Linked DNA regions of Homo sapiens: all the other regions are linked to region 2. Evidence: promoter capture Hi-C in 16 types of primary human blood cells and fetal thymus (Javierre and others, 2016). All regions are on one chromosome and are shown on one strand. Each heading gives the region's core, a stretch centred on a gene start or on the middle of the fragment in contact. The rest is flanking DNA. Distances are from core to core; before and after follow the strand shown.

The links. Contacts are between HindIII fragments. The CHiCAGO score rates a contact against its expected background, and 5 or more counts as called.
Region 1: a fragment that was not itself captured here is called in contact with the fragment with the promoter of WNT5A in region 2 in 1 of 17 cell types (fetal thymus); the score reaches 5.4 in fetal thymus.
Region 3: a fragment that was not itself captured here is called in contact with the fragment with the promoter of WNT5A in region 2 in 2 of 17 cell types (fetal thymus and M2 macrophages); the score reaches 9.5 in fetal thymus.
Region 4: a contact is called between a fragment that was not itself captured here and the fragment with the promoter of WNT5A in region 2, in 1 of 17 cell types (fetal thymus). The highest score is 7.2, in fetal thymus.

The regions. Positions count from the first base shown.
Region 1 is chr3:55,676,333-55,679,219 of GRCh38, forward strand. All of the region lies in intron 17 of ERC2 (ELKS/RAB6-interacting/CAST family member 2), which reads right to left. Among named protein-coding and RNA genes, the nearest start is that of ERC2-IT1, 18 kb to the left of the region's middle. The HindIII fragment of the contact is 1,240 bases long and covers 704-1,943 here.
Region 2 is chr3:55,485,894-55,488,834 of GRCh38, forward strand. WNT5A (Wnt family member 5A) reads right to left here and starts at 1,413. Exons shown (of 5, transcript NM_003392.7): 1 at 1,087-1,413. The coding sequence starts at 1,092. WNT5A-AS1 (WNT5A antisense RNA 1) reads left to right here and starts at 1,725. Exons shown (of 2, transcript NR_046656.1): 1 at 1,725-1,986; 2 at 2,097-2,415. The HindIII fragment of the contact is 5,010 bases long and covers 91-2,941 here.
Region 3 is chr3:55,707,152-55,709,914 of GRCh38, forward strand. All of the region lies in intron 15 of ERC2 (ELKS/RAB6-interacting/CAST family member 2), which reads right to left. Among named protein-coding and RNA genes, the nearest start is that of ERC2-IT1, 49 kb to the left of the region's middle. The HindIII fragment of the contact is 1,592 bases long and covers 718-2,309 here.
Region 4 is chr3:55,659,698-55,662,612 of GRCh38, forward strand. The region is part of intron 17 of ERC2 (ELKS/RAB6-interacting/CAST family member 2); the gene reads right to left. Among named protein-coding and RNA genes, the nearest start is that of ERC2-IT1, 1.7 kb to the left of the region's middle. The HindIII fragment of the contact is 4,168 bases long and covers 1-2,915 here.

The DNA of each region.
Region 1 (2,887 bases), core at 74-2,573, 190 kb after region 2:
TGGCACCTGCTAACACTGACAGTGCTAACTACCAAAGGCACCTCTCTCCCTACTCTCACCCATAGCAGACTTTTGGGCTGGCTGGTTTCGCTGACGTTTACTGAGCTGCTTATTATTATTATTATTATTATTATTATTATTATTATTTTAGCATTCAGCTTTTCATATCCCTCCCACCCATTGGTATCTGTGTCTCAGATTAATTTTCACCAGATGTGAGTGTCTGGACTTCTCCAAGATTTGTTATTTTCCCTCCATGTTCCTAACCTTCTTCAGGCCATTTGTGTGATTTCTCTGACCTCAACTAGTGTTTCCAACACCTTCCAAATTAGTGTCATCTGTGACTTTCCTTCACATGCTCTTTTCTCCCCTTTACAGATCATTAATAAAGAGGTTAAACAAGACCAGACCAACAGCATACTCTAAAGCAAATGACAAAAGGGTGGGAGAGCCAGCATGCTCCCTGTGCGCCAGCCCTGGCACAGGAAGGATGTAATGTAATGTAACAACACTCTGCTAGACGCCTCCCGCCTCTGGCCCAGTGGTAATTTATCACCACTGTTTGTTTATGATTTCTCAGCCAGATTTCAGGTCCTCAGAGTGTGGTCATATCTAAGCCAACATGCATTGCTCTGCCAGGTAACCCTTATGAGCTCCAGAGAAACCCACAAGAACTTATTTACTGCCCTCCAATCTCCTTAAAAGCTTCTACCTTGGCCCCCAAGTCCATCACCCTTGAGAGCAGAAAGAGGTGGACTGAGACATTATTATCCTTTTCTCTCTTCCAATTCATTAGCTCGCAATTAATTATTTGTTAAATATTCATTGGCTTTCATGTTACTCATTAGATTTTTCTTTAAGCCGAAAGAAACCCTCTGCTATAAACAGGGACTAATTCATACTCTCCAACAATCAAACTTTCCTTTGCTATACCCAAGTGTTATAAAAATCAAAGGTAACTGGAGAGGGTATGTTTATAGGGTAAACATGCTTTAAGTAAGGCCTGCTATGTAGGTGGCTTGGGTGTAGCTATGGCCATAGGAATAGATTACCTTTCTTTTGCCTTTTCTTTTACCTCCCAAATTCAACAACCCCAGTATCAACCACTTTCCTCTGTTTATGGATACAGTACACTTTCCTGAGCCCAGAAGTAACAATAATAGTGATATACTGATATTCTACCCAGGGTTGAATACTCACTGTGCACCAGGCATGACTTGGCATCTTACTCAGCTCATCACAGCCCTGGGGGTGTCACAACCTTCCTCAAAGAGAAAATGGAGGGGAGAGACGGAAGGTGACTTACCCACGATCATCCAAACCTAGGTCTATCTGAATCCAGAGACCACACTGTTAGCCACCCCACCATAGATGAGGGTCTTCTTCACTTTTTCTGAGTCACTGGCCCCTCTATCTGCTGAGGAACATAAATAAATACTCTCTTTGTGGGGATGTGCATACATCCACATTGAAGCCTATTAACCATGTCAGGGGATTTGCAGAGCCTCCAGGGCTTATGGACGCCTGCTTGAGAATCTATGTACTACTCTAAGCTCCTCGAGGGTAGGAATCACACTTTGTTCACTACCTTGACTCAGTACTGAGATGTATATCCAGTACATCTCCAGTACTAAGATGAAGAAATATTTTTTGAATAAATTACTAATTGCAAAGACTGTGAATAGGATATTCAAGTTGAAGCTCTAAACAGCAGCTTTGTAAGCCTGAATAGAAGATATAAATATACAGACACCTTCCAGAGGAGTAGAAGAGCAAAATAAAAGGAGGAAGTGGGGACAGAGATAAAGCAAAAACATCTTACTTTGCCCAGGAATCGATTTTGCAATTGGAAGTAGGCAGAGACATTGTCATGGTGGTTCTAAAACACCTCGTAGCTACTTCTGGTTAGTTCTCATATTAACTCCTGAAAAGAGATTATTGAAAGCTTCTTCTGCAGAAAAATAATATACTTAGAATTTCAAGATGAGAAGTCAATTATCAAGAGCAATCAAAATCTCATGTTGTACCCCTTAACTGACAGAATTCTTGATCCCTGGAGATCTCAGGGGGAACTACAAGAGCCAATGGCAACTTCCTTCTCTCTAGGTCCCTCTAGTCCCTAGGTCCCTTTCAACCTCCTACAACTCTGGGGTTTTTGTTTTTCCACAGATTGCTACCCCTTACATGTCTTCTTATTCTATAACTACTGATTTTGCTTTGCAATCTCCTTTTCTTCAAGAGTTGGAGGAGCCACCCACTCTTGAAGTTAGACTTCAGACGTGCTTTAAACTTGTCAGCCTGCACATTACTGCAATAAGAGGCCAGAGATTCCCCTGCTGATATGCAGGAACATGGAAAACAGCCAAGGTCAAAAGCCTGCCCTTCCCTTGGCCAGAGCGACTGGACATCTGGGGAAACCAGAACTCTGAGTTCCCTCTCAGTGCCCCCACCACCACCAATAATGGCCTGCTCCAGCTTTGACACCCAAGGTAGAAATCTGGAGGCATTCTCAATTTTGTCCTTTGTCTTACCTCCCCATCCAAGTCCTCCTGGCTTCACCTTCCTAGTCTTATCTCCAATTTATCCACTTGTCTGCATCTCCACTACTGCTGCCCTGGGTCAGTGCCATCAATTCTCTCACAGATCATGGAACAGCCTCTACTTCTGCTCTTCCTGCCACGACAATTCATCCTCTACACAGCAGCCAGGGTTGTTCTACAACATAAATCAAATCATGTCATGTCCCTGCTTAAACTCCTCTGATGTCTGCTCAGTTTTCTTAGGCTTAAAATCTAAACTCTCTACCTCGCCATAAAAGGCCCTACGTTTTCTGGTCCCTTCCTTCTTCTCCATCCTCATCTCACTGTTTTGTGCTCTACCCAGAGTT
Region 2 (2,941 bases), core at 163-2,662:
GCTTCCAGGAAACATCTTAATTTCAATTCTAACCTTATTTTCTAAGAAACTTAAAATGGGAAAGACCAGAAAAATGGAAATAGGAATCGAAGCTTGGAGGACAGATAAGAAAAATTGTTTAGAAAATAAAAACTTATGTTGCAGGAAGAAACGTTAACTTTTCGTAAAAGTGAACTCTCAGTGACCCTCGGAGTGTGTGATTCGGCTTTAACATACAACTGACAATTAAAACAAACAAGAGTTCGCAAACTGGCCCCCGCCTGCTCTCCCAAAGCGGAGGCCCAAGTGTTTTCTAAAGGACAAGGCGGACTCCGCTCAGGGGGCCGGGGAGCGCTGTCCCGGAGTACGGGATTACAGCCACTACCACCACAACTCCCCGCCCCCACCACTGCTGCAAAGTGCCTGAGCTCACCCAGTGGCGGCTAATAATGCTAATAACGCGACCCCGCTCCCCGCGCCGGGGTGCGCGCTGGCCCCCCGCCAGGCACTCTTAAAGGCAAAGGGGCCTGAAGCGCTCGAGTTACTCGGCCAAGGCAAGCCTACAATCTGGCCTCCGTCGGTGCGGGGGGGTGTCGGGGAAGGTGTACGCCGCTCTGGAGTAGTTGGCCCCTAGTTCCTCTGCGGGTTCTCTCAACCAAGGAGTCCCTTTCCCCATCCCGAGCCCCGGCCACACACCGTCCCGGTGCCCGCGCAGTGGGCGCTTGGTAAATATTTGTTGAATTGAATCATTATCCTGTTACTGAAATATACATAGTAAATTACACTCGATGTTCTCAGAGCAAAAGGAAAGTCGTCAGTGAACCGCACTCAGTTTGTCTACTATCGCTCTTCCCCACTTTTTCTCAAAAATCAAAATTGTTTGCAGAACGGGTGGTGCGACCAGAAGTGATCTCCTGGGACACTGAGGCAGTGCGCCCGGCGTGGAGGGCGAAGGGGTAGGGGTTCCTGCCAGCGACGCTGGAGTTCCAGCTTCTTCAGGCGGTTGGGGAAATGGAGGGATAGGAAGAGGCGAAGGGAACTCAGTTAACTTCCAACAGGGGGTGGGGGGAAGTAAAGAAAAAAAGTGGCAGCGCACTGAACACCTACCTTCATGGCGAGGGGGAGGGGGCGCGGGGAGGAAGTCGCCACCCGAGCGAGCGCAGCCGAGGAATCCGAGCGGAGCGACCGGGTTAAGCCTGGGGGGACGGTCAGGAGCAGGGCTGCGGAGTCCTCCGGCGCGCGTCCGGCGGGCGCAGTGAACCGGAGCTGAAGCGGGCACTGGCGCCCGGGCCTGGACTCCCGAGTTGGGGCAGAGCTGGGATGCGCCCAGGAATGGAGGGGGCGCGGACGCGCGCGAGCCGGCAGCAAGGGCAGGGCCTGGTCGGGGCGCAACTAGGGAGCCGCCGGTCCGGCGAGGGCGCGCAGGCAACTGTTCCACGGAGAGGCGCTCCGTTTCCAACGTCCATCAGCGACGGCGGTAATTAGGGCTTTCCAACCCCAAATGTGGGCGTGATTGTGCAAAAGACCTTACGACAAATAATAATAAAAAGAAATTCTTCACAAGAGGGTGAAAAAAATGTACCACTACTCAACTGTGGCCCGGGGCGGGGGAAGGGGGGCGATCTGTGCGCCCAGGTGCCCCCAGTTCATTCACACCACAGATTCTGCAAACTCTTGGCGGCTCACGCCTCCTGATCTCCAGCTCCTCCTCTCTGGGTCTGTAGCCGAAACGTCTGCTTCCAGACGCTGATCCTGCAGCCGCGAGTTAGTGTGGACGTCTCTGTACACACACAGACACACACCCCAACACACACACCCCCGCTGCAGCTTTGGGGCCACAGAACAATCAGGCGCGCATGGCTTTTTCTCCGGGAGATGCCGCTGAAAACGCACAAGTCGCCATCTGAGCTGCAAGAGTCAGCCCCAAATTGTGTCCTTTCATTTTAGGGTTCGGCAAAAACGGGGAGCAAAATAGGTGAAAGTCGCCCCGGAACTTATTGCTGTGCGGTGAGCTGGAGGGGTGCGACTAACCCAGGGGAGACGCGGGCTCCCCCCCCCCACCACGTATCCCGTTCTTTCTCTCTTCGGGTTGATCTCTCTTTTCCCCGTTTTTCCAGGGCGAAGGGCGAAGAGCAGCGAGTGCACCGCGGGCGCGAGGCTGGGGAAGGGCGAGAGCTCGGAGCTCCGCGGCGGCGACTCAGCTCCGGCGGTCCATGGCCGGCGAAGCTGCCCACCTCCTCGTTTGGCGCCCGGGTCCGAGGGGCGGGAGAGCGGGCCGGCGGGAGGCGGGCGGTCCCGGGCACAACGGCGGCGGCGGAAGGGCTCGCTGGGCAGCTGCCGCACGGACCCCGGCTCTGGGCGGCGGAGGCGGCTCCGTGGAGCTCGCAGCAGATTTCCACGCGATCCTGTGCCCCGCAAACAGACTGACCGACCGCGGGGACGCGTCCCCCCCTCCCACCCCCCAGCCCTTCTGGCCAACTGCCTTACTCTCTCCCTCCCTCTCTCCAGACTCCTCTTTCCCCTGGTGTTCTCAGAAGGAAGAAAAAAAAAAAAAGAAAGAAAGAAAGAAAGAAAAAAGTTCTTTAAAGTTTCAGAACTAGGGGCGGCTGGAAAGAGAGAGGGAAGGGGGGGGAAGAAAGAAAAAACTCAACTTTGCTATGCGCATGCGTGGTGAGGCCGGCCTATGACAAACTCTGCAGGATTTTAAAGCCGTACTACGGGCTGGGGTGCCGGGAGGCGGGGTACACTCTCCTTGTCTCCCCTTCTCTAAGTTCCCCATCCCCCGCGGCATCTGCTGAAAGAGAGAGGTCCACTCCGCAGCCGCTGCCTGCCTGCCGCCTGGTTGTCTGCGCTCCTTCCAGAGCCACCGACCGGCGGGAGGCTGAACCCCAACTTCCCCGCCTGGACCCCTTGGCTCGCCCGCGTATCCCAGACCGCTCCCACTGGGGCTCCACGGAGACTG
Region 3 (2,763 bases), core at 264-2,763, 220 kb after region 2:
GGCCAGGCGCAGTGGCTCATGCCTGAAATCTCAGCACTTTGGGAGGCAGAGGCAGCCGGGTGGCTTGAGCTCGGGAGTTAGAAACCAGCTTGGGCAACATAGTGAAACCCCACGTCTACAAAAACAAAATACAAAAAATAAGCTAAGTGTGGTGGTGCATGCCTGTAGTCCCAGCTACTTGGGAGGCTGAAGTGGGAGGATCACCTGAGCACAGAAGGTTGAGGCTGCAATAAGCTGTGATCATGCCAATGCACTCCAGCCTAGGCAACAGAATGAGATCTTGTCTCAAAAAAAAACATTGCTTTCTGCTGCCACCTTAGGAACCTGGGGAATCCCCTGAAGGGTTATGGACAGTGACTGTAGCCAGAAGCAGCATCTCCCCTGTTCTACTGTCAGCCAGTACAGCCCATGAGGAAGGATTATTTATAAAGAAAGAGTTCTATGTGCTCTGCTCATAATGTTAGGATCCTAACCGACATTGTGAGATGGAGCCTCCTGTTAACATAAAAAATAATAACCAATGCCTGCTTGGCCCTTGCTGTGTGAACAACACTGTGTTGGCATCATCTCATTAAGTCAGTCTGACATCAACCCTGCGATGCAGGCAGGGGTGGGGATTGTATTTAAAATCTTTAATAGCTGCTATGACAGATGCAGAAACCCATGAGAACCAAGAGTGACACAGTTGCACATGCCCTGAATATTTGCCTTGGTTGAAGCTTCTTATTACTCCCACTTTACAGATGAAGAAGATGAGGCTTAGGGATTAAGCAACTAATCAGAGCTCAAATAACTGGTAGATCTGAGGCTCTGACTGTGCAGCCTCCTTTGTAACCAGTGCATCCCACTGCTCAGATCCTTAAGGACCAGCCCCTTCATAAACAAATCAAGACTGACCTGGGAATGGGCTCTGATCACCCACTCCAATCATAGCTTTAAAGAAAAGCAGCTCACTTTTGATTTTAAAATTCCCTCTGAAAACGATGGAACTCAGACACATTAGAAAATCTTAATGGAGCCCCAAAGAAGTCCATGTTACTGACCATCCCCTAATATAAATTCAAAAGTCATTATGCACAGTCCACACTAGCGTTTAATGCTTCAACCAATGAGACAGCTAACAGCTAGGCTAACACATTAGCAACTCCAGACAACCAAGGAATTTCTAACATCCTGAGCACCATTGCTAGTGGCAGAGTCTGGGGGAAGGGAAAGGCCCTAGATGTTTCCACCACAAAGTTACTTAGTTAAGCGCAGGTCTGTTTAATTAAGTCGTGGGCAGCACATGCTATACTTAGCTTTTAAACACTTGTAAAGTCCTCTTCATTCATTTATCTTACTTGTCACTGACAAGCTCTTCAAGGACTGTAACAGTATGCAGAGCATGAAGAGCCTGGGTAAACAACACATATTTTATGTGGAGTCTAAACTGTTTCAACTCAGAAAGTCAATAGAGGGTCTCTGAAAAAAACTCCAGACTCTTCTACTACAGTGTGGAAACATTCTGTGCATGGTCTGTTAGGAGTTTCTTTAGAAAGTGAACTCCAAATAAAATCCTAATTTTTTAACCCAAAGGTAAAAAGACAAAAATAAATAAATAAATAAATAAATGGAGGAGTGGAAGAAGAAAGGTGGGAGAGAATGAAGGAGACTGGGAATAAATAAAGGAAGGAAGAAAGGAGGGAGAGAGTGAGGGAGGGAAGAGAAAGAGGAGAGAGAGAGAGAAGAGGAGAGGTAAGGAGAAGAGAGGGAAGAGAAGACAAGAGAAGAGAGAAAAAGAAAGGAAGGAGAGAGGAAAGACAGTGTTTGCAGGTATTGAGATTCGGACTCTAGAATTGTGCTGACAAGTGAAGACAACATTTTCATTCCATTCATAATCCAACAAATATTTATTATCACTGGTTTAGGGAGAACTGGCATCATCAAAACAGCTCCCTAACTAATGAATGGGCAAAACAGCCTCGGGGTATCGCCTAACAGAATTGGCCAATAGGCTAGAAACTGGAGCGTGAACATTCTAGTAGAACTCTAGGAGCATGTGAGATTCTAGGAGAATGTGAGGTTGAGTAAAAGCCAGCAGCGCCCTCCGAAAGAGGCCGTGAGAGTCTTAAACAGGGCTATGAAGAGAGGGGTTCACATACCCTTGGAGGCAAGATAATTCACAGGGAGTAAATGAACTGCTCAACAGTTACATATTTACTCTAAAATATATTAAAATAAATTATAACAAGCACATCAAAGAGAGGTTTCATAGAAATTATGTCTTAGGATGTGGAAAACACTGTGAAGGTAATCCTCAAAATGTCTGAAGCTTGAGACACCACCATCAGAAGGGAAGGGTAAAGCAAAGGAGAACGGACTGGGCAAGCAGAGGAGACTAGAAACTCAGGTCAGCCCAGAGAGAATGAACATGTCCTGAGAACTGTGGGAGGACGGAAGGACGCTCTCCTTCAAGGGCTTTGACCTTCGCGCAGAAGTGGAAGCAAATGCAATCTGGGCCTGCTCCCAGTTCTAAAGCAGAATGGAAGGGCATAAACCTCCCAGCACCTCACCTCCTTCAAAACAAAACAAATGACCCCCCAAAGGGGGAGAGAAGGGATGGGGTGAGCCATGCAAAACATGTGGTGGGGCTGTGTTGGCCAGCACCGAGCACAGTTTTGACTCCAGGAGGTGTGGAGACAGCCAGGAGAGGCTTGGCAGCTGGGAGGGAGAACGAGACAGGGAGAGGCAGCCAGGCCCTTGGAGGGGGAACAAATCCCTCTC
Region 4 (2,915 bases), core at 249-2,748, 170 kb after region 2:
GACCTCAGTCTCAACCGATAGCCTGTTTGCCTCCTATACTCCAGATGTATTTATGGACATAGGTAGGCTCCCAGATCAGATCTACATCATGACATCCCCTGGGGCTGGGCTATTCTCCTCTGCCGCCTCTGTACCTGGCCAACTCCTACTTATCCGTGAGGCCACAGCTCAAGGGTCACTACTTCTGGCTTCTGAATCTCGGTATGGCGTCTCTCCCATATTTGCTCTAGGCATCTAGTGCCTCCTCCACTACAGCACTTATTATACTATCCTGAAATTGCTTGCTTTTCTGTGCTTCCTTCATTAGCCTGGAGTAATGGAGCCTGGAAGATCTATGAGTATGGAACTCACCTTATTCATTACTGCATCATTAGCTTCTCATGCAAACCCCATCACATTATGGAAGCTCAGTTCATATTTGTTAAATGTCTGAACAATGTGAATGTTCATACTCAGACTTTCCATTGGCTGAATTTGAGGTCACAATTTCTGTACATGCAACTGAGAGCAAATTGGCACATCAACCCGCACCCCCACCTCCAGATAAAATGTAAGCAATAGCATTTGTTCCACCTGATATTCCTTTTGGCTCCTGATCTTTATGTCCAAGTTATAAAAATGTCTCCATCACAACTTCCACCCCTGGAATTGAGTGCCTGGTGCAGGGAAGGGGCACAATCTTTGACACAATCTAGAGCAAGTGAGACCTCCAAGGATTTGAAGAGAAATGTAAGAGTGTGCTCTGAGCTTTGGCTTGCAGAACCTGGGGGGTGGGGCGGGGGTGGCGTGGGAGTCTCCTATTTCCTTGACCATCCAAATTTGATTTTTTTTCTCCTTGCTCAGCACCTAGTGGTGTAGTATTCCAAGGGCATTAAAACAAGGTTAAAGGGCTTTATGTGATGAAAGGCATTCTTAGTTGTGAGTGTTTAGCAGGAGTTTAAATATCAGCAATTTTGTATATGGAAACATATTAGCTTCATATTTAATTGGGGTCGTGGTGCACTGTGAAGTACAGCACTTATGTGCACAGACTTGGGTATGATGTCCCACAGACATGGGTTTGAGTCCCAGCCCTGCCATTAATAAGCCATGTGACACCTGCCCAGGTAGCTAACCTCTGTGAGCCTCAATCAGGTCCCTCACCTATAAAACAGGGATAATAACAATAAAAGCATAAATCCTTGTAGGGCTGTTGTGAAGAACAAGGTAAGAAATGCACATAAAGTACCGTGCACAGCACCTAAAATGAGGTAAGCACCTAGAAAATGCAAGCTGGTCTTCTTCATATTATAACATTGGGCCCTTACCCTGCTCCAGTTGCTAGAAAGTAAAAAATGCACCAGCTTGTCCTGTGGGCCAAGTCTCACACACAGATGTTGGTTCAACTCGTCTGTGCATTAGTTTTCTACTGCTATCCTAACACATTACCACACACTTAGTGACTTTAAAAAATATCTATTTATTATCTCACAGTTCCGTAGGTCAGAATTTTGGCACAACACGGCTCAGTTCATTCTCTGCTGAGTTTCATGAGGCCAAAATCACCAGGTGTCAACAGGGCTGCAATCTTTTTTGCAGCTCTGAGGCTGAATTTACTTTCCAGCTCATTCAGGTCACTGGCAGAATTCAGCTCCGTCTGGTTGTGGGACTTTCCTGGCTGGCAGTTGGCTAAGCATCATTCTCAGCTTCTAGAGGCCACCTGCAATCCCTGGCTCATAGCCCCTTTCCTTTTATCACAGCCTCGTCTCTCCTCTCCTCCCCCTTGGGACCTCTCTGCCTCTTCTGCTGCCTAATCTCTCCCCTTCCCTCTTCCACTGCACCACTCTGACTCTTAGACTTTCTTTCTCGACTTTTAAGGGCTAATGTCATGACATTGGGTCCGTTTACATAATCCAGGATACTCTCTCTATTTTAAGATAAGCTGCAAAGTCCCTTCGTCCAGTACCTGGTTAGTGTTTGAATAAAGCATGGGCATCTTGGAAAGGCATCTTTAGATTCTGCCTATCACATCTTATTTGCTGCATTTTAAAATCTGAAACAAAACACATCTCAACACAGCACAGTCATTACGTGTTTAGTTTGGGCTATTTGTGGAGTTGGCTTAGCTGAGAAGAAAAACGTGAAAAGGTTATTTAAAAAAAAAAAGTGGGCCCACCTCCTTTCCTGGGAGACTAATGCTTTGTTAAATATGGACTTTTCAATCCATTTATCAGGGAAATTCCCTTAGATTTTCCCTTTTTCACTTTCTGTTTAATAAAGTCCATACCATTTTAGGGTATTTAAGAATTTAAATATTGCAAAGCTAAGGTTTTTATATATGAAGCTGAACTCCAGATTTCAAACTGTCAGCCAGCAGGGTCTGAACAGGGAGGACTCTTGGGGGCAATCCTGCATTAACACAAACAGGACAGCGTGGGCTGGGAAACTCAAGACTCAGATTGGAATGTATTTGCCAATTGGCAACCAATCCTGTTCTTATCAGCTTATCAGATTTATTTCATGTAGAAAATTAAAATTCTGGGTCTCTATTGTGCAGAAATACTTGCACATACGCCCAAAGGCATATACACAAAATTATTTACTGCAGTCTTGTTTGTGATAGCAAAACATGGCAAACTATCTAAATGCCCATTAACTGTGAGTGGCTAAAATAAACCTTGGCAGGGGAATTCCATGAAATACTTCTGTCGCTATTAGAAAATAAGGTAGGTCTATATATATTGAAACGGAAAGTTTACCAAGACATACTGTTAAGTGAAAAATGCAAATCACAGAAGAAGCTGAATAATATAATCTAATTTGTGTTAAATGAATTATGTGTGCATTATTTGTAAATGCAGACAAAGGACATATCTACCAATTAATTGGGGTCTATTGCTTCTGGGGAGAAGTGTAGAGTTGGGGGACAGAGTGAA